7 separate regions of the Homo sapiens genome follow, and all the other regions are linked to region 4. Evidence: promoter capture Hi-C in 16 types of primary human blood cells and fetal thymus (Javierre and others, 2016). All regions are on one chromosome and are shown on one strand. The core of a region is centred on a gene start or on the middle of the fragment in contact, and the rest is flanking DNA. Distances in the headings are between cores, read along the strand shown. Region 1 overlaps FYCO1 (FYVE and coiled-coil domain autophagy adaptor 1). Region 2 overlaps FYCO1 (FYVE and coiled-coil domain autophagy adaptor 1). Region 3 holds the start of FYCO1 (FYVE and coiled-coil domain autophagy adaptor 1). Region 4 holds the start of CCR2 (C-C motif chemokine receptor 2). Region 5 has its middle 25 kb from the start of CCR9. Region 6 has its middle 14 kb from the start of XCR1. Region 7 has its middle 56 kb from the start of XCR1.

Region 1 (2,700 bases), core at 200-2,699, 420 kb before region 4:
ATGGCTCCTTGAGGAAGGCATGACTGTTGCCATTCTACAAAAGAGGAAACTAAGATTCTAAAAGATTGAGAAATTCAATCCAGGCTCACACAGGTCTGAGGCAAAGCCATCATCTTCCTACCATACCAAACTGCCTTTTGTGGAGAAAATGTATTACTATCCCCTTTAACACAGGGGAGGGAATTAACTTCAAAGAGGTTAGGTAACTTGCCCAACACTGCGCAGCAAGTGGTGGTGCTGAGCGTTCATCTGCCTCCAAAGCTGTGGAGATGAATGGACAGACTCCCCAAAGCTAATGAGAACGGTAAGAAATGATTAAAAAACCAGGATGCTTTAAAGAACAGCTCCAATACTCACCTTTGTGAGAATTCAATTCAATGCGATACTTCTCCATGTGTTAAATTTTATTTCTAATTAAGAACCCTCGACCAACATTTACAATTTTCAAGAATCTGAGGGCAGGTTTGGGGGGTCCATTCTGGAACAGACATCTTTCTTGTAATGTGGAAATCTTACCATATTACCATGTAAAAAGTCACTTACCCTGACATAATGCCCCATTAATACATTAATGCTGGAGCATTTTATAATTTTATGCTCCAGAATTCTCCCCTGGCACCCAGGTATTTGGATTGTGCCTCAATCATCTAGTCTAGACATCATCTAGACATCATCTATTCAGTGACAAGGACAATACTCAGCCTCTCCAAAGCAGATCTTAACAAAAACAAATCAAAGGTTTGCTCAAATATAATATAATCTTAAGATGCCTATTGTCTATAAGGCTCATGTCACAGATGTGAATTCCACTGAGTGACCTAAGAAATTTCAGTTTACATGAGTCAAGGGGTACCAACACATTTGCAGTGTTCTGAGATAATCCCAACCTTTAACATGTTTTCAGATGCTCTCATGATGTTGTTGCTAATCCTTAGCTTGCTGTCACTCTCTTTGAAAGAGGCAGAAAAAAATAACTTTCAAGGTGTTGTCATTCTCCTTGCATTTTATTCCCATGTCCAGCCGACCTATTCTCCATACTGTCTTATTCTCCTCAAAGACCTGCCTTGGATCTGTGTGGTCTAGTTATTTCTAAATCTCATAACTTTCCTCATTCCTTTACTTGAGGGTAGGTTTTTTACCAGTTTTATTATAAATGATTTCAAACATTTCCCTGTTCTTTCCCATTAAATGCCACTAAAAAAACTGAAAATGATTCAGCAGTTGTAGTAAAAGTGAAGGGCAGGAGAAGGAAGGCGGACTGATTAAGGACCCCCAGAATATGAGGAAAATCACAACAGCTTAGCGTCTCTGAGCCCCCCACCTACACATAATAAAAAACCACTCGTTATCCTAAGAGCCAGGAAAATCACAGTGTGCATGAGGAAAGACAATCAACAGAAGCCGACACTGACATCAACCAGATGCTGGAGTTATCTGTCAAGGCTTTTAAAGCAGCCATCAAAAAAAATGCTTCAGTAACAATTTTAAATGTTCTTGAAACAATAAAACAGTGGAAAACTCATACCAAAGAAACAGAAGATATAAAAAAGTACCAAATGGAAATTTTAGAACTAAATAATTACAATAACCAAAATAAAAAAAAAATCACTGGACACTCAATAGCTGAATAAAGATGACAGTTATACTTGAAGAGAGAAAAACAGAAATTCCTCAATCTGAACAACACAGGGAAAAGAGAATTGGGGGACAGGGTGCAAGGAAAAAGAACAGAGCCTGAGGAATCTACAAGGCAAGGACAAAAGATCTCACATTTGTATCACTGGAGTCCCAAATGGAGAGGGAAAATAGAGTGCATCTGAAAAAATGTTCAAAGAAATGATGGTTATAAACTTCCCAAATATGATGACAGATAAGCCTAGAGATTTAAGAGCTGAGTGTACCCCAAATAGGAAAAACCCAAAGAAATTCATGCCAAGACCCATCATAATTAAACGTCTAAGAACAAAAGACAAAGAAAAAACTTGAAAGCAGGCAGAGAGGAATAACTTATTATCTATGGGGGAATACCAATTTGAATGCCAGGGGATTTCTCATCTAAAACCATGGAGGCCAGAGGGAAGTAGCAGCACACATATTTCAAATGCTGAAAGAAAAGAACTTTCAATTCTATATCTGGCAAACATCCTTTAGATATTCTGTCAAATCCAGCAGTGTGTGAAAAGAATTATATACCACAGCCAGTGGGATTTATCCCAGGTATGCAAGGCTGGTTTGATATATGAAAGTCAATCAATGCAATCCATCATATCAACAGGCTAAGGAAGAAAAAGCCTATGATCTTATCAATTGATGTAGAAAAAAGATCTGGCAAAATTCAACAGCCATTCACGACCACCCAAGTTCTCTGTTACTATTTCTAATTGTCACTGCTGTGAGTAGCATGCAAGGGACATTTTGGTAGCTTTATCTTTGCACCTCCAGTCATTATTTCCTCAGGATAAATTCCCAGACACAGGCCCATTGCATCAAAGAGAAAATGCAATTCTTGAACTTTTGGTACATTCTGCAGCCAAGTTGCTCTCCAGAAAGGGTGGCCCTGACACTTCATACTCCCCCAGCATCAACAGCTTGTGAGTGGGCTAGCTATTTAATTCTTCCTGCTTGGTCTGCCCCATAATTCAATATAGTGTTTGTCCAAGTGTGGTCCAAGGTCACCTGAGGACTGGTGGAATAGATTAT
Region 2 (2,700 bases), core at 201-2,700, 400 kb before region 4:
CAGGAGTCTGTCTGACCTGCATTTTCCCTTAATCCACTGATGCGTGGGAAAGAACCTCCCAGTGCTCAAGGGCTTGCAGCAGGCACTGGGTTTCCAACCAGGGGCCTTGTGTCCGACTGTGCAAACCACTTAGTAGGAAGGCCACTGTAGAAATGTTCCTGTACCAGTCATCTGCCCACAAACACTCTCCAGCATATGTCACGGAAAAATGTGAGAGCAGGTTTGAGGCAAAAATGAAAAAAACACTGGGTGCTGTGGCTCATGCCTATAATCCCAGCACTTTGGGAAGCCGGGGTGGGTGGATCACTTGAGGCCAGGAGTTCAGTACCAGCCTGGCCAACTTGATGAAACCCTGTGTCTAATAAAAATATAAAAATTAGCCAGGTGTGGTGGCGGGCACCTGTAATCCCAGCTACTCAGGAAGCTGAGGCACGAGAATCACATGAACCCAGGAGGCAGAGGTTGCAGTGAGCCGAGATCGTACCACTGCACTCCAGCCTGAGAAACAGAGCAAGACTTAGTCTCAAAAATAAATAAATAAATAAATAAATAAATAAATAAATAAATAAATGAGTAGACAGGAAATGTCAAAAATCAAAACAAGTGACCGCAGCACTCTGTGGTCACTAATGAGTCAGGGCAAGCCCATGCAAAGTTCCTGGGGTGTTTAGCAAGAAAAATGGTTCAGGTGAGCTTAAAGTTCCCACCTGGACCTGCCACATGACCACTAAGGCAGGCCCTGCTTTAGAAGTGAAGTTCTTCTTCTTGTTTCAAGTCTGTGTAATAGAGAGCTTGAGGCATAGGCTGAAAAAAGGGGCCAGGGATTGTTTTTTTTTCCATCAATTCAGCCACACTCCTGAACCTGCCTTGTAAGGCTGGCAGAGGGAAGGGAAAGCAGACAGCAGGGATCTAAAATGATGTCCACTGAGAGAAACCAAAGACTTAAATAAATAGAAAGTTGTATCATGTTCATGGACTGAGTCAATTTTATTAAGATGTCAATTCTCCCCAAACTGAACTAGAGATTCAATGCAATCTCAATTTAAATATCACCAGGATTTTTTGTAGAAATTGACAAACTGATTCTAAAACTTATATAGAAAAACAAAAAACCTAGAATAGCCAATACTTTGATAAAGAACAAAACTGGAGTCACTCTACGTGATGTTAAGATGCTTTATAAAACTATGGTCATCATAACAGTTTGGTATTAGTGAAAGAATAGGCACATAGATAAATGGAATAGAATAAAAGTCCAGATATAAATCCACACATATAAGGTCAATTGCCTACTTTCTCATGGCAGCATAAAAAAAAATAAGGTCGGTTTTTGACAAAGGTGCAAGGAACAGTCTTTCAATCAATGGTGTTGAAATAACTGGACAGCCATACAAAAAGATGAATCTCTATTCATACCTTGCACCATACACAAAGATAACTGAAAATGCATCATAGGCCTAAATGTATAAGCTAAAGCTGTAAAACTTCTAAGCGACAACAGAAGAAGGTCTGTGAGTCCTTGGGCTAAGTAAAGCCAGACATGACAACAAAAAGAAAAACATTTATGCATAACAGAAAAAACCTGATACATTGGACCTCATTAAAATGATAAACTTCTGCTCTTTGAAGACTTTTTTGCTCTTTGAAAGAAAATATAAAGATAAGCTATAGATTGGGAAAAAATACTTGTAAAATACATATGTGACAAAGAACTTGCATAGAGAATATACAGAGGACTCTCAACATTCAATACTTAAAAAACATTTTAAAATGGGCAAAAGATTTGAAGAAGATAAACTAAAGCTGTGCAAAGTACACTCCCCATCCTTGTCAGTTCTTTGTACCCAACAACATAATGGGGCCTGCCAACCACTTGGTAATCCACTCAAACAAAAGAGGAATGGACAGTATTTCTAAAGGCTGGCTGGCCTGCATCCAGGCAGAGGCCAAGGAGGAGTTCACAGGGACCAGCTGCAGATGGCAATGATGCTCGAGCAGAGACGAGCTGAGACCACTTCTGCCTGTGCCGTCTCAGCTCTGCCTCCCTGTGTTCCACATTCAAAGTCCAGTGCCCGGAAGGGCAGCCCAGGCCTGTCTGCTAGGGTGTGCTCAAAACCGAAGCAGCAGAACCCAAACTCTACTTCCTTCACTGGGCTGAGTGGGAGGACACAAAGGAGATTACATCCTCCTTGGACATGAAGGAAGAGCGAGCTTCAGGAAGAGACTGAAGGATATGGATGGTTCCAGACACAACTCCTAGCCTTGAGTTACTCTGGATGCCAAGGCTGCAGCTCTGGTAGACGGCATTCTCCAAAGCATGGGGTGTATTTCATGAATGTGCATTAACAGGTACATAGACTTCAGGTTAAATCACACTGAATCTTATCAGGGCAAAGTTATTCCTTTTTCAATTCTCTTTCAATCCTAATATATCAAAATGAAAGTCTCAAGTTGGTGGTAATATATTTTAGCACCTCTTTAATACCTAAGTTTAGAAAACACTGAATTCAGCTTATTAGCACTAACTAGCCACAACATCGGTAGGGGAGGAAGTGGCACCTAGAGAACATAGTAGGCAGTAGTAGCAGGAGACTGACCTTGGCCTCCTGTGGCCTGGGGCCCAGGTGAGGCTGGTGACAGTGCAGGGCTGGGCTCTCCCTGGCTAGTGCCTGAGCCACTGCTATCAGGGGAGCCAGGGCC
Region 3 (2,700 bases), core at 14-2,513, 360 kb before region 4:
AAGTGGAGCTCACTCAACAGGGGTCCACTTCAGAAGGTGGGAACTACTGAAAGCAGAAAACCTTGGCATGATAGCTCCAGCTCCCCACCCCTCCCCCACACCAGCCCCCAACACCCTCCAGCCGCATTAGGCAGATGGCAGGGGAATTAAGCTTGCAGCCTGAGACCACAAGGCCTGCACGGGCAGGAGAACCAGTGAGCAGATTAAGCCCTGGATCCTCTGCCCCGCAAAAGCCCCTGACCCATTTCTCTGTCGGGAAAGGAAACTGCTGTGGTAAGACAAGCAGAGGGGCTGAGAGGCTCTGGCCAACACAGGCAGTTTCAACAAGTGTTCTATTTTTTTTTCTGGAGAGGACACCCAATGGGAACAGTGAAGAGTGACAGGGACATCAGAGAATACATGTGCTTTAACAGGGGGCCACGCGGTTAACGTGTCAACCACATGTGCTTTTCTTACAAAAAATAAAATCCCGCCATCCTCCCCCCTCCCCGCCCCACCCCCGCCAGGTTTCAACAGCACGGACTCCAGTCCAGTGCAGTGCCGCCACACCAGAGACAACAGGTGTTTCGGGAAAAGACCCCTGGGGGCTAGCTCGAGACCCTGCGCATGGGCACAAGGGGCAGTGGATAGTGAATAGGTCTTGGCCAAAGGATGGGCCAGGAAGAAAGAAGCTTCTTCCCCTCCTGGGAAGAGGGCAGAGATCCGAGCACCAGCGGAGTCTTGCAAAGTGAAGGTCTGGGCTGTCCCGGCCCAACTGGGCCAGAGACTAAACTTCCTAAAGACCACGCAGGCAGGAACTCCGGGGCCTGCCCCATCCTGCGCTAAGACATTCAGGCTTGTTCTGAGACGCCGCATGGTGGGCTCCTTTCCTTTGCGGGCCCTCCGCCCTCCGGGGTCTTGGAACTGGTGTTTGGGGTCTGTCTTTCTAACCGACCAACAGAGGCAGGCTGGGTGCCTGGGCCGGCTTCCACCTGCCCGAGGTGCTTCCCGGCCCGCTGGGCAAGGACGGGGGCGCTCGGGCAGGGTCTGAGGGAGACCTGGGATGGGCGGGGACTGTAAGGGCAACAGGTGACAAGCCGCGCCCCGAGCGAAGCTCTCGCCTCAGGGATCGTGAGCGACCCAGGTGCCCCCAGAGTCCAGCCGGTCTTCCGCGGCACTTACGCGCTCGTGGGTCCACCGCCGGGCAGAACCGAAACTTTCTGGGGCCAAGCGGAAGAGGACGGGAACGCGGTGCTGACGGCCATGACGCGCACACCAAGAGGGTGGCGGGGGCGGACTACAACTCCCGGCGTGCTCCCCGGGGCTGAGGCCTGCAACTCCCATCGGACTCCCGGGGCTCCGACTACAACTCCCGGCGACTCCGCAGGGCGGGGTTTAAGTGCTCCCACCGCCCAGTCCCCGGACCGACTGTCCCACCCGCGACCCATGCTGGCCCCAGGTTAACGCCTGCAACCCCGGAGGGCCACAAATCAAAGGTCTGGCATCTTGACAACAACGCTGTTCTTGTGTGGCTAAGGAGCACTCCAAAGGTAGCTAGTTCGAGTTGAATCGTGCACGTGCTGTAAGTGTGAAATACACCTAGGTACCAAAGAGTCCGAAGAATGTTAACTAGCTCATTAATTTTTAGTGATTGCATGTTAAAATGATAATATTTTGATATATTGGGAAATAGAAAAACATGTATTGGTGGGCCTAATTTCCCATCTTTTAATCCCCCTTATTTCTTAATATCAGGGTCTTACTTAAAATTAGTGCTCAAAAACTACGTGTTTATGAACTACCACCCCTAACTTTGGCCCCATCCTCAGCCCAACTTCTATTTATAAGATGGGTGTTGCAAAGCACTGTGGAACTGAATACGATAGAACAAAATGCATTCAATCAGTGTCCGCTATGGGCACAGTAGAAAAGAGGAACACTACACGGGGACTTTGGCTTCTAACTGACTGCATTCCTTAGCTGTGGCTGGCTATCCTTTACTCTCTGCCCTAGTTCTCATCATTTAAGCCAGAAACAGCTCTCTCCCTTGTAGGACCTAGCTCGTGGTATCCAGTCAGGAACCGTGGTGGCCCAACATTCTAAACTGAGGAAGCAGGGTGTTGTCTGGGTACAATAATACAGAAAGAAAATCAATTTCTTAGTCGATTTTAGGCTATGACATCTCATTAGCCATCTAATTTTATAAATTAGATGTAGCTAAAACAGTGAGTTGGATGGATGGAGTAGTCAGTTTGGGGGTGGGGTTGGGAGGAGGTACATGAATAGAAGTGATTTCCACTCTTGTTAACAGAAAGGAGAACAGAAAGAAAACGGGGGGAGTGAGAAGATGACAAAGAGAAAAGTAATCAATGTAGTGGTCTAAGAGAAATCATTGCTCCAACCACTGTCTGAACAGCTTCATGCAATATTAAGGATGAGAGAGATTTTAATGTTGGTCATCTGGTCCAATATCCTTGTTTGAAACTGTGTGGGGAAAAAAAAACCTCCCTCAAACCGTATTTTTCCTCTACTCTTACACAACAGCAATCATCAACACAGGAGAATAATTTGGTGACCAGATGTGTGTGGGGTTTTCCCCACACACTGAGCAGTGGACCGCACCTGGGTGTCCTCCAATTCAATTCCGACACTATCTACCTGGAGTATCAGATCCCACAAGTGGAGGGCTCAGTCCCCAAGACTGCCTCCTCACCTTTAAAC
Region 4 (2,700 bases), core at 128-2,627:
CATGAGATCCTGCCTCCGGTGTCTGCTGGATTCCAGAAAGTGCCAGGGGCCAACTTAGATGACACCATGTTCTCTGCACAATCTTAGGAATGCTCCTAGTCTGATGTCCCCATTGCAAAATTTACATTATCTTTTAACAAAACGTCTTTCCAAGGAGGGGCATTTAAAATAACTGAGGTTCTTCTTGCTAAGGACGTTCCTGACACAAGAGATAATTTAGCATTTCCTTTTCATTAAAAAGTTTGAAATCCTGTAATTTGTGATAATGTGGATGAACCTAGAGGATGTTAAGTGAAATAAGCCACACACAGATAGACAAATACCACGTGATCTCACTCTTATGTGGAATTTTTTTTTAAATAAGTTGCTTAGCCGGGCATGATGGCACACACCTGTAATCCTAGCTACTCAGGAGGCTGAGGTGGGAGGATGGCTTGAACTCAGAAGGTGGAGGTAGCAGTGAGCTGAGACTGTGCCAGTGCACTCCGGTCTGGGTGACAGAATGAAACCCAATTTAAAAAAAAAAAAAAAGTTGCTATCTTAGAAAAAGACAGTAGAGCAGTGGTTACCAGAGACTGGGGAGGAAAGAGAGGAGGTGAGAATGGGCAGCAGTTGATCAACGGGTACAAAGTTACCATGAGATAGGAGAAACAAGTGCTGGTGCTCTGCTCCAAGTAGGGTGACGGTAGTTAATAATGAATTCTGTATATATAAATAGCTAGAAGAGAGGGTTTTCAATATCATTATTATTTCAAAAGAAATGATAAATGTTTCAGAGGATGGATATGTAATTACCCTGATTTGATCATTGCACAATGTATACATGTAGCAAAACATCACATTGTGTCCCATAAATATATACAATTATTATGTGAATTAAATAAAAAAAAATTTTAAAGTCTTATCTAAATGAAATTTCTAACCAGATTCTGAATCCATGATACCACTGAAACCAGCACACATGATCGCAGTAAAACCTCATTATACTTCCTCCACTATCACCAATACCCTTTATTCTCTGGAACATGAAACATTCTGTTGTGCTCATATCATGCAAATTATCACTAGTAGGAGAGCAGAGAGTGGAAATGTTCCAGGTATAAAGACCCACAAGATAAAGAAGCTCAGAGTCGTTAGAAACAGGAGCAGATGTACAGGGTTTGCCTGACTCACACTCAAGGTTGCATAAGCAAGATTTCAAAATTAATCCTATTCTGGAGACCTCAACCCAATGTACAATGTTCCTGACTGGAAAAGAAGAACTATATTTTTCTGATTTTTTTTTTCAAATCTTTACCATTAGTTGCCCTGTATCTCCGCCTTCACTTTCTGCAGGAAACTTTATTTCCTACTTCTGCATGCCAAGTTTCTACCTCTAGATCTGTTTGGTTCAGTTGCTGAGAAGCCTGACATACCAGGACTGCCTGAGACAAGCCACAAGCTGGTGAGTTGTAGGCATTTTTTCCATTACTTTCTGATTCATAGGCTCAACGCACCTCAAAGCTGGAAATGCCGGGTCTGGGTACACCCTGGGGAACTGCAAAGCCTGCACACTTGGGGGGAATGATCAAGATGAGAGGCAGGGGTGGGGATGGCATGTGCACCAGGAGATGTTAGAGAAACCCTGAGGAAGAGCAGCGTGCAGCAGGTGATGGGGGAGAGTGGGCAGCAAGCGAGGCCAGGACAGCCACTCTGCTCAGTCACCAGTCCACACACCCAGGGGCTCACTCTGCCCCTCTGAGCACCCAAGGACGTTAAAGAGCTGGAACTGTTAGTCTAAATATAGGACCATCCAAGCTCTGAACCAAAATGTGTCCCTTGCCTCAACTCAGGAGATCCACAGAGGCAGAAGTAAGGAATTTATTTTCTGAAAGATAGATTTCTATCAGTTCTGGGTGACATGTTCTGACACTTGAAATGACACCTAGGACAGCACATTTCAGGCATCTTGCTCATTGTTCACTGTAGTAGAAGCTACATGCTAGCCAGTTGTAAAAATGAAATTAAGTAATGTGTGCACAGCATTTAACATAGCATCTGAGCTTCAGGAGCACTCAATTAATGACCACAGTTGTGATTCTTTAGGCAGATGCATTTTTTTCCAACTTTGATCAGAGGTCTTATTTAGCTTCTCCAGATTTCAAGAATCTGGCTCAGTGATATGAAATACAAGACTTGTGAAAAGTGTCAATTGCAAGAGAAATGGAAGGATAAAGTATACAGGTGGGTGGAAAAGAAATTCACAGTCACTGCCAGAAAAAAAATTCTTGAGAATCAAGTCCTGATGATGTTAGGGCTTATAGTTCTTATTATAAAGAGTTTTATGTACTCATTCAGTGAACATTTATTGGTGCCTCCTTTAGCCAGGTACTATCATAAGAGCTGAAAATAGAAGCATAATCCAGTCCTTGATCTTGAGGAACATGCTGTGTGTAGCAGATAACATAATAAGTGCTTATCTAGATGCATGCAGTGTTATGTGATAAGAGTAATATGACAGAGGATACAGATTAGGCTTCACAGAGAAGGGGGATTTGAGCAGGAGGTATTGAAGGGTGAATAGAAGCTCACCAATCATTTTGGGCAGAGGGGCAAGGACCTGCAAAACCACTGAAGCATGAAGGAAATGGTGAGTTTAGGGAAAATGAAGAGAAGATGGCTGTGACTGAAGCACAGGATTTGGGATTGGAGAAGGGACTG
Region 5 (2,700 bases), core at 97-2,596, 440 kb before region 4:
AACTTGTGTCAGGTTTGCTATGATAAAGTATCAGGAGTAATCCAATAAAACAACAAAAAAATGTAAATGGATCTCTTTTGGGTTCATTTGCAATTAAATGAAAGAAGTGATTCTAAGAACCTTGCTTGTATTCAATTCAGCTGTGTCCTGGTAACTGTTGCCACAAAATTTAGTGGTATAAAAACAATAACCATTTTATTTTATTCGCCATTTTGTGAGCCGGGAATTTGGAAGGGGCTCAGCAGGGCATATTTAGCTTGGGGTCTCTCATGTGGCTGCAGTTAGATATTGGCTGGGGCTGTGGCCACTGGAAAGCTTAACTGGAAAGCTTAACTACTGGCTTAGGGCCAGTAGTTGATGCTGGCTGCCATGCAGGGCCCCAGCACACGGCAGCTTCAGCAGGGAGGGCTCAAGGTACTCAGACCTTTTACATGGCAGCTGGCTTCCCCTGTGCAAGAGAACCAAGGGGAAGTTGCAGGTCCTTTTCTGACATGGCACCGGAAGCCACACAGTGTCCCTCTGCTCTTCCACTGGTCAGAGCAGCCAGAGGCCAGCCCGGAGTCAAGGGACTCGAGACTCCACCTCTTATTGGAAGGGTGTCAAATAACTCTAGGGCCATATTTTAAAATCACCAAAGGTGGCTACTCTGTAAATTAACTCATCTTTCAATGATCCCAATCACTCGGTCCCCCAACTTGACTAGCTGACTAATGCCCAGAAGTAATCAAAAGAGCCAAGAGAGTAAAAGGGATTGGACAAGGTGTGGATGTCTTTCTCAATGATAACAGCTATCACATTTTGAGGCACAGAGTAGCTAAGTGACTTGTCCCAAGCCAGAGGAAGTAGGTAGTGGCACTAGGAGTTGGATCCACGTCTTTCTGATTCTAGAACCCAATCTCTTAGAGGCTGTTGTACTTTCTCCCCAGTTGAAGTTCAAGCACTGATGTTCCAGTGGTCAGTTTGCACCATATGATCTGGATATAGCTCTTCTCACAAAGGCCCTGAGTCAGGAGGACAGGGGGCCCTAGCTGGGCCAGCCCCTAGGCAGGGGAAGAGGAACTCTGGCCATATTGTGGCTTCCTCCCAGGCCCTCCCCGCTCATGGCTTTATGCCGTTCAGCTTTGCTGGTAAGTAGGTCACCCCTTTGGTGAATGCAGAAAGACATCAACAACTGTGTAATGACTCCAGCATATAGGAATTGGGCATTTGGTTTTTTACTGGGAATTTGAGATGGCCGTAAGATGATGTGAATGTCTTTTTAGAAATTAGTTTTCGCATTTTAAAAGTTAAACTGGCACCTACTAAAAATACTTCAAACGACATAGAAAAGTATAAAGAGAAAAGTAAAAGCATCTTATTCCTGCCACCAACTCCAAAGCCCCACCAGCTCCATCTGCCAAGGCAGCCACTGCTGTGTCCAGCGTCTTTGTCAGGAAATGTCGCATGGGTGTGAATAGTGTTCGTCACATAGTCTCCCAGGGTGCCGTCATATACTGCTTCAATCCAACCCACTTTGAACAAATCCTTTCCTGTTTTTTGCTATCACAGACATTGTGGCCATGAAGATTGTTGCGTGTGTTTTTGCGTACTTGTATGAGTGTATCTGGAGGAGAAGGTGGGTGTTTTACTGAAGATGAAAATTGAGGTGGAAATATGTGCAAGAAGGGAAGATTATAGACTCTTTGGTAGAAATATTACAAAAATGGTCCCAATTCTCTACCCCTCACTGTCCCTGTGCCCTTTATAAAGTGACTTTGCAGTTCCTCCCATCCAGAGGAGTCCCTTTTCCCACACCTGGAATCTGGGCTGGCCTGTGACTTGCTCTGACCAACAGAACACTGTTGAAATGATGTGCCAGGTCTGAGACTGGGCTTTGCGAAGCTCGGGCACTTTTACTCACTCTCTTGGAAACCTGCTCAGTGGCCATCTGAATAAGCCCAGGCTATCCTGTTGGGGTCAGGGAGACCACATGGAGTACAGCCAAGTTGTCTGGCCAAGACCATCCTAGCCTAGCCAGCCTTTCTTTGACCAACTGACCACAGATGTAGGAGTCAACCCCAGCCACGATTAGCCAATGAGCAGCCAACCCTCAGACATGTGGGAGCACAGCCTCAATGCGTAGCTGACCACGGGCAGACAAGGGAGTGAGCCCACCAAGAGTCCAGAGCCCCCAGTCAACCTGCATATTCGTGAGCAAAATAAATCTTCAGTGATTTAAGCCACGGTTTTGAGGTTATCCAACTTCAAATAACGCAGAATAATGCAGCTTGGTCTGACAACAGGTAACTGATACAGCCTTTTGTATTAACAATCATAATAAAGGTCTGAAGGTCAAGGGCTGCCATAGCAAATCCTGGTTTATGGAAAAGCTTTTTATAAGTCATCAGATAATCTAAATTCAAGTAAAATGAGAATGGTTTAGAGAAAACCACTCCTACAGCTGTCTCAGCATAACGCAGTAGCAGTAATATGTTCTGTAAATGGTTCAGACTTACCATCTTCCCTGGGTCTTGGTTCCTCATCTGTAAAAGTGGGCTGACTTACAGCAAGAGCCTAGAAAATTATACAATTACACAAATTAAACAATGCTACTATTGTTACTATTAACAAACCAGTGCTGCAATGAGCTGATCTTTCTCTTGTTTTTCATGAGGACCTGCCACAACCTAAAGATCCTTAACTTTTTTTTTTTTTTGGCCT
Region 6 (2,700 bases), core at 147-2,646, 340 kb before region 4:
TCATCGCTATTTCAGAAAGTGCCCCCCAGCCAGCTAGTGGCAGAGCTGGGACGATTTTGGTTTTCAGACTCCAAATTCAGTGACCTTTCCACTACTGAAGCCTCCAAATTCTCAACACAAACTTAAGTATTTCCTTGGCCAAGACAGTGTAACAAAGTCTTTTTTTTTCTGAGTGGAAAAATAAATTGCTCTTAATTTCTTTTTTCTTTCCTTTTTTTTGGTGGGGGGAGGGGGATGGAGTCTTGCTCTGTCACCCGGGCTGGAGTGCAGTGGTGTGACTTAGTTCACTGCAACCTCTGCTTCCCAGGTTCAAGTGATTCTCCTGCCTCAGCCTCCCGAGTAACTGGGATTACAGGTGCCCGCCACCACGCCCAGCTCATTTTTGTATTTTTAGTAGAGATGGGGTTTCACCATGTTGGCCTGGCTGGTCTTGAACTCTTGACCCGTGATCCACCTGCCTCAGCTTCCCAAAGTGCTGGGATTACAGGTGTGAGCCACCGCACCCGGCCCAAGTTCTTTTATTTTCAAACTGGCTCTTGACACTCAGAATAAAGGAAATCAACTCCATCTAAGACATGAGAAGAAATTGAAAAACCTCTTTGGAAAAACTCAGCTTTGCTACCAAGAAATAACCTTTAAGTAAATGGCTGGTAGGAAGGAAATTCTCAATAGTACTATTGTAGAAAATTGAGCCCGCCATTTTCCAAGTGCTTCACTGTCTCTTGAGTAGTTCTGTTGATGTGGGCAGGGAGCAGTACTGCTGATGGGAGCAATTTGGGGTGGGGTTTGATCGTATCACTTGTCAAAGGCTTATCCTAAAATGTTTTTGGTGTGCCCAGTGGTGTCACACCTCTGACCTCCTATCTTAGTGGCTTAGACTGTAAGCCACTGGCTTTCTCTACTGGCAGAGCAGTAGAAAACCTCAGTAACCTTTTTCACACTTGTGGTGGCCATTAGCTGATCCTGTGGCTGAACTCTCCCTGCTTGGGGGGATTCCTCACCACGAGTCTTGGTGGGAGGCAGAGCCCACTTCTGTAGGAGATAAGGAAGCCTGGGCGCTCTTTCCCAGCTCCCTTGAGGCCAGAGTGTGGGTGTGTGGCCTTGGCTCACTCTGTGAGCCTCGTGTACCTGTTTTTTGTAATGCAGGTGGGAGAAGTCTTTCTAGAGTCACTGTAACCTCTGGCTCCTGCGGTTGTTGTGCCAGAGACCACCTCCCTTTGTTCTAGCTGTTTCTCCTGCCTTCCCACCAGTTTTGTGAGCTACCCAGCAGCTTTTCTCTTTCTTTGAGTATAACCTCTTCTATATGTCATTTCTCTCCAATTTTAATGTATAATTACACACATTTTTCTTTTTTTAATTTTTTGCCGAATCATTTGTGATGTAGTTGCAGACATCATGACACTGTACCCTGCCGCATCTCTGATGCAATTACAATGAAATCACATGCAGTATCTTTTCCACACATTTTCTTCTGCCGTGGCAACTAGAGGCAATTTCTGTTGCTTATGGTTAAGAGTCCTGATGGGCATATCATTTGGGAAATTGGCAAGATGTGATGGAAAGAGTAGGTGTTTGGGTACAATACAGACCTGAGTTTGGCTTTAACTTAAGAAAGTCATTTATCTCTCCAAGCCCCCCTTTTCTCATCTGGGTAGTGACAATGCCTACCTTGTAAAATTGTGAGAATGTGGCATAATGTGTGCAAGGGATATAGCACAGTTTCTAGCACCCAGTAGTTGCTCAATAAATATTCATTGAGTGAATGATTGAATAAATAAAGACACTAGATCAGTGATTGTCAAACATGGCTGTACATTAGAACCACCAGGAGACTTTAAAAACATCCTGAGGCCAGGTTGCACCCTAGAACAATTGCATCAGAACCTTTGGGGTAGAAACTCAGACATTAGTGTTTTTTTTGTTTGCTTGTTTTTGTTTTTTGAGACAGAGTCTTGCTCTGTTGCCAGGCTGTAGTGCAGTGGCGCAATCTCAGCTCATTGCAACCTCCGCCTCAGCCTCCCGAGTAGCTGGGACTACAGGCGTGCACCACCACGCCCAATTAATTTTTGTATTTTTAGTAGAGACGGGGTTTCACCATGTTGACCAGGATGGTCTCGATCTCTTGACTTCATGATCTACCTGCCTCGGCCTCCCAAAGTGCTGGGATTACAGGCATGAGCCACTGCGCCCGGCCAACATTAGTATTTTTTAAGCTCCGCGTGTGATCTGACATGTAGCCTTGGATGTTGGAGTGTGACCTATTCTGGTCCCTTGTATCCTCCTTAGTCAAACTGGAGAAAACAGAAACCTCGTAAGGTAGCTGTGAGACGTGAAAATGTATGGACCTAATACATAGTAGGTCTCAGTAAACACTAGCTTCCAATCTCCTCTGCATGTCTTCAGTTAGGTGTAGCCTTCTGTGTAGGTGCAGGAGACACTGGAACATCATGGAAGGTTTGGAGGTGCACTGGGATTCCGCTCCCACACACTGAAATTTGTGTCCTGTATTAATTTGCTCCGGCTGCCATTAACCAAGTTCCATGACTGGGTGGCTCGAACGAGAGAAATATACTGTCTCACAGTTCTGGAGACTGGAAGTCTGAGATCTAGGTGTCAGGTTCATTCCTTCTGGGGCTGTAAGGGAGAATCTGCTCCATGCCTTTCTCCTTGCTTCTGGTCGCTTGCTGGCAGTCTTTGGTG
Region 7 (2,700 bases), core at 126-2,625, 270 kb before region 4:
GTTTAGCTCCCACTTACAAGTGAGAATATGTGGAGATTTTGATTACTGGAAAGGATGTCGAATAAAAGATTCCTTCTCACCCAGTGGGAAGGGACCATATCAGGTACTATTGGCCAATCCCTGTGCCACTAAACTTAAAGGCATTGATGCATAGATTCATATTTCTCATTTTAAAAAGACAACCCTACCTGAGGGGACGTCTTTCATCATGGGAGATCTTAGTGGAATTGACTTGCAGTCTTCCTGACCAGAATGGAAAGTAGCTGACATTTGTGGTCACCTGTTTTCACCCAAGATACCAGACCAAGCCTGTATAACTTGTTCTTCATGATTCTAATGCCTACCACACCTGAAATATTTGCTCTCCTTTTTCTATTGACTGGAATACTTATGGCGTTAGGCCTCCATACTGTGAGTATCCTCTCTTGGATAAAATTGTTTTGGTAAAATCATCATATATATATTTATATGTGCATATATACATGCATACACACACACACACACACACATATATTCTCTTAGGATATATGTAAACAAATGCCTATAATCAGGCTCCTTTTTTTTTTTTTTTTTTTTTTCCTTTTTTTAGAGATGGGGTTTTGCTCTGTTGCCCATGCTGGAATGTAGTAACATGATCATAACTCACTGCGGCCTCCAACTCCTGGGCTCAAGCAATCCTCCCGACTCAGCTTCCCGAGTAGCTGGGGCAACAGAAGTGCACCACCACACCCAGCTAATTAAAAAAAAAATTGTAGAGAAGGGTCTTGCTATGTTGACCACACTGGTCTCAAACTCCTGGCCTTAAGTAATTCTCCCACCTCGGCCTCTCAAAGTGCTGGGATTACAGGCATTAGCCACTGCACCTGGCCTAGGTTTCTGTTTTTGCCGTCCCTGATAAATTTGACTGTAGCATGGAGGGATAATTCTCTGATCAGAATCCCACACACCATTGCCACTGCTGGAAATCTGAAGAGATGCTGGGTTTGCTACCCTAAACCAAAAACTACTTTTGACCACAATGACCCACTGGTACATTCTGCCCTAAATTTCACCAGTGTTCATGATAGCACTTGTAACACAACTCAGGGCCACATAAAAGCAAACCTGTTAATCAGGTCTGCCTGACTCATCCTAACCTGTTTGTCCTATGTTTCAATGTAACTCATCAGAATTCTTTTGTCAAAAATCACTGCTGCGTTACTCACTAATGACAGTACTAAAATCCATGATGTTGTTAGAAAATCCAAAGAAAACAGCCCCTCCAGCTATCAGGATCCTGTCTTCTTGCTTTAACATTTCTGACCCATTGATCCAGTAATGCCTCAAAACTGATGTTCTTAAATTATAGTGTACTTATCTGTGCTCCACCAGGATTTATTATAGTCTGTGGAGAAAATCACCAGCCATGGTCCTGTAAGTGTCTAAGAGCATGGAATGTTGAAGGGCAATATGTCTTAGGATATTTCGTTACCCTTCTCTCTATATACAGCTCTGAAGAAACTCAGCACTGGACTAGTTCCCTCAAACTTTTCTCTAGGCATGACTGCAGATCTACCTTAGATGGAGATTCTATTTAGAGAAAATGTGCTAATTATCTGGCTGGCCATCAAGAAGATAGCTCCATGCATTTTTTTTTCTTTGAGAATACTTTTGCCTTTGTTGGATGTAACTTCCCATGAACACATGATCTAAAATCCTTCTAAAACCCTAGGAAACATTGCTGATGAAACTGCTGTCTCCATCACAGCTCAACAAAAAGCTACAGATTTACTGACTAAGGTTGTGCTAGACAATCACATTGCTTTAGATTCTATATTAGCTGAGCAAGGAGGTGGATATGTGGTGGCAAATACCTCTTGTTGTATATACATAAGTATTTCCCATGAAGTAGAAACTCACCTAGGAAAAATCAGGGAAGAAGCTGCTTGACTACAGGTCTCTAAAGAAAAACTGAGATTTAATTTTCTTCAGGAGGTTTTTAGTTGACTCTTAACAGACTAGATTCCTTTTTCATTCTGGCATAAAAATTCTCTTTTTGGTTCTAATCCTATGTGCATTATATATTTCTATTATTCCAATTAATGCTAGATATCTTTCATTGTTTTATTTCTTCTGAGAAAATGAAAATCATGGTATTCCAGAGACTGGCGATGATGGAGCAAACAACAGCAGCTATGTAAGTCAATACTTTGTGGACTCACTTTTGCCATTCTGTATTGTCATCCTGATTCAGCTTTTTGGTGCTCTTAAAATTCCTCACTGAGATGTCTCCACTCCCCCATGTGGGACAGGGCTACCCAGGAATGAGCCTTCCTGGTGACAAGGGACAAGCTGGCACTCAGATTTGTATCATCAGTGCTTTTGAGGAGAAAAATTTGTGATCAAAAGGAAGGAAATGAGAGCAAAAGGAAACTTTTAATCATAGGAATGTGAGCCCTTTTAAATTATCAGTCCCAGAAAAGCATTGGAATGAAAAGCTATCACATCTCATGCCTCCCTTGAGCTAAGTAATTACCTCTTGAAGCCACTTGCTATGTGGACTCTAGACTAACTGATGCCAAGTAGCTATAAAATGCCATGCACTGGACGCCATAACTCATATCCTCCAGCTCAACAATGTAAAGCCAATCCCTAATCAATGTAATTTCTATAAACCAATGAGAATTCCTGCCAACTTTTTATCAGCTCACTCCTTGCTTT

What was found. Contacts are between HindIII fragments. The CHiCAGO score rates a contact against its expected background, and 5 or more counts as called.
Region 1: a fragment that was not itself captured here is called in contact with the fragment with the promoter of CCR2 in region 4 in 10 of 17 cell types (neutrophils, M1 macrophages, naive B cells and 7 more); the score reaches 10.2 in neutrophils.
Region 2: a fragment that was not itself captured here is called in contact with the fragment with the promoter of CCR2 in region 4 in 1 of 17 cell types (neutrophils); the score reaches 5.2 in neutrophils.
Region 3: a contact is called between the fragment with the promoter of FYCO1 here and the fragment with the promoter of CCR2 in region 4, in 7 of 17 cell types (monocytes, neutrophils, naive B cells and 4 more). The highest score is 13.8, in monocytes.
Region 5: a contact is called between a fragment that was not itself captured here and the fragment with the promoter of CCR2 in region 4, in 2 of 17 cell types (neutrophils and naive B cells). The highest score is 6.1, in neutrophils.
Region 6: a fragment that was not itself captured here is called in contact with the fragment with the promoter of CCR2 in region 4 in 1 of 17 cell types (monocytes); the score reaches 5.2 in monocytes.
Region 7: a contact is called between a fragment that was not itself captured here and the fragment with the promoter of CCR2 in region 4, in 6 of 17 cell types (M0 macrophages, M2 macrophages, monocytes and 3 more). The highest score is 11.2, in M0 macrophages.

The regions. Positions count from the first base shown.
Region 1 is chr3:45,932,399-45,935,098 of GRCh38, forward strand. All of the region lies in intron 15 of FYCO1 (FYVE and coiled-coil domain autophagy adaptor 1), which reads right to left. Among named protein-coding and RNA genes, the nearest start is that of CXCR6, 9.7 kb to the right of the region's middle. The HindIII fragment of the contact is 3,840 bases long and covers 1-2,700 here.
Region 2 is chr3:45,955,811-45,958,510 of GRCh38, forward strand. It overlaps FYCO1 (FYVE and coiled-coil domain autophagy adaptor 1), which reads right to left. Exons shown (of 18, transcript NM_024513.4): 13 at 2,598-2,700. Among named protein-coding and RNA genes, the nearest start is that of CXCR6, 14 kb to the left of the region's middle. The HindIII fragment of the contact is 6,291 bases long and covers 1-2,700 here.
Region 3 is chr3:45,994,561-45,997,260 of GRCh38, forward strand. It overlaps FYCO1 (FYVE and coiled-coil domain autophagy adaptor 1), which reads right to left and starts at 1,264. Exons shown (of 18, transcript NM_024513.4): 1 at 1,162-1,264. It overlaps LOC105377063 (a long non-coding RNA gene), which reads left to right and starts at 1,343. Exons shown (of 3, transcript XR_940799.3): 1 at 1,343-1,529. RefSeq lists enhancers at 1,063-1,562, 1,063-1,112, 1,133-1,292. The HindIII fragment of the contact is 2,332 bases long and covers 670-2,700 here.
Region 4 is chr3:46,352,734-46,355,433 of GRCh38, forward strand. It overlaps CCR2 (C-C motif chemokine receptor 2), which reads left to right and starts at 1,378. Exons shown (of 2, transcript NM_001123396.4): 1 at 1,378-1,444. The HindIII fragment of the contact is 10,451 bases long and covers 1-2,700 here.
Region 5 is chr3:45,910,625-45,913,324 of GRCh38, forward strand. It overlaps a transcript of LZTFL1 not described here. Among named protein-coding and RNA genes, the nearest start is that of CCR9, 25 kb to the left of the region's middle. The HindIII fragment of the contact is 2,041 bases long and covers 327-2,367 here.
Region 6 is chr3:46,012,492-46,015,191 of GRCh38, forward strand. No RefSeq gene overlaps it. Among named protein-coding and RNA genes, the nearest start is that of XCR1, 14 kb to the right of the region's middle. The HindIII fragment of the contact is 3,415 bases long and covers 1-2,700 here.
Region 7 is chr3:46,081,921-46,084,620 of GRCh38, forward strand. It overlaps a transcript of XCR1 not described here. Among named protein-coding and RNA genes, the nearest start is that of XCR1, 56 kb to the left of the region's middle. The HindIII fragment of the contact is 8,313 bases long and covers 1-2,700 here.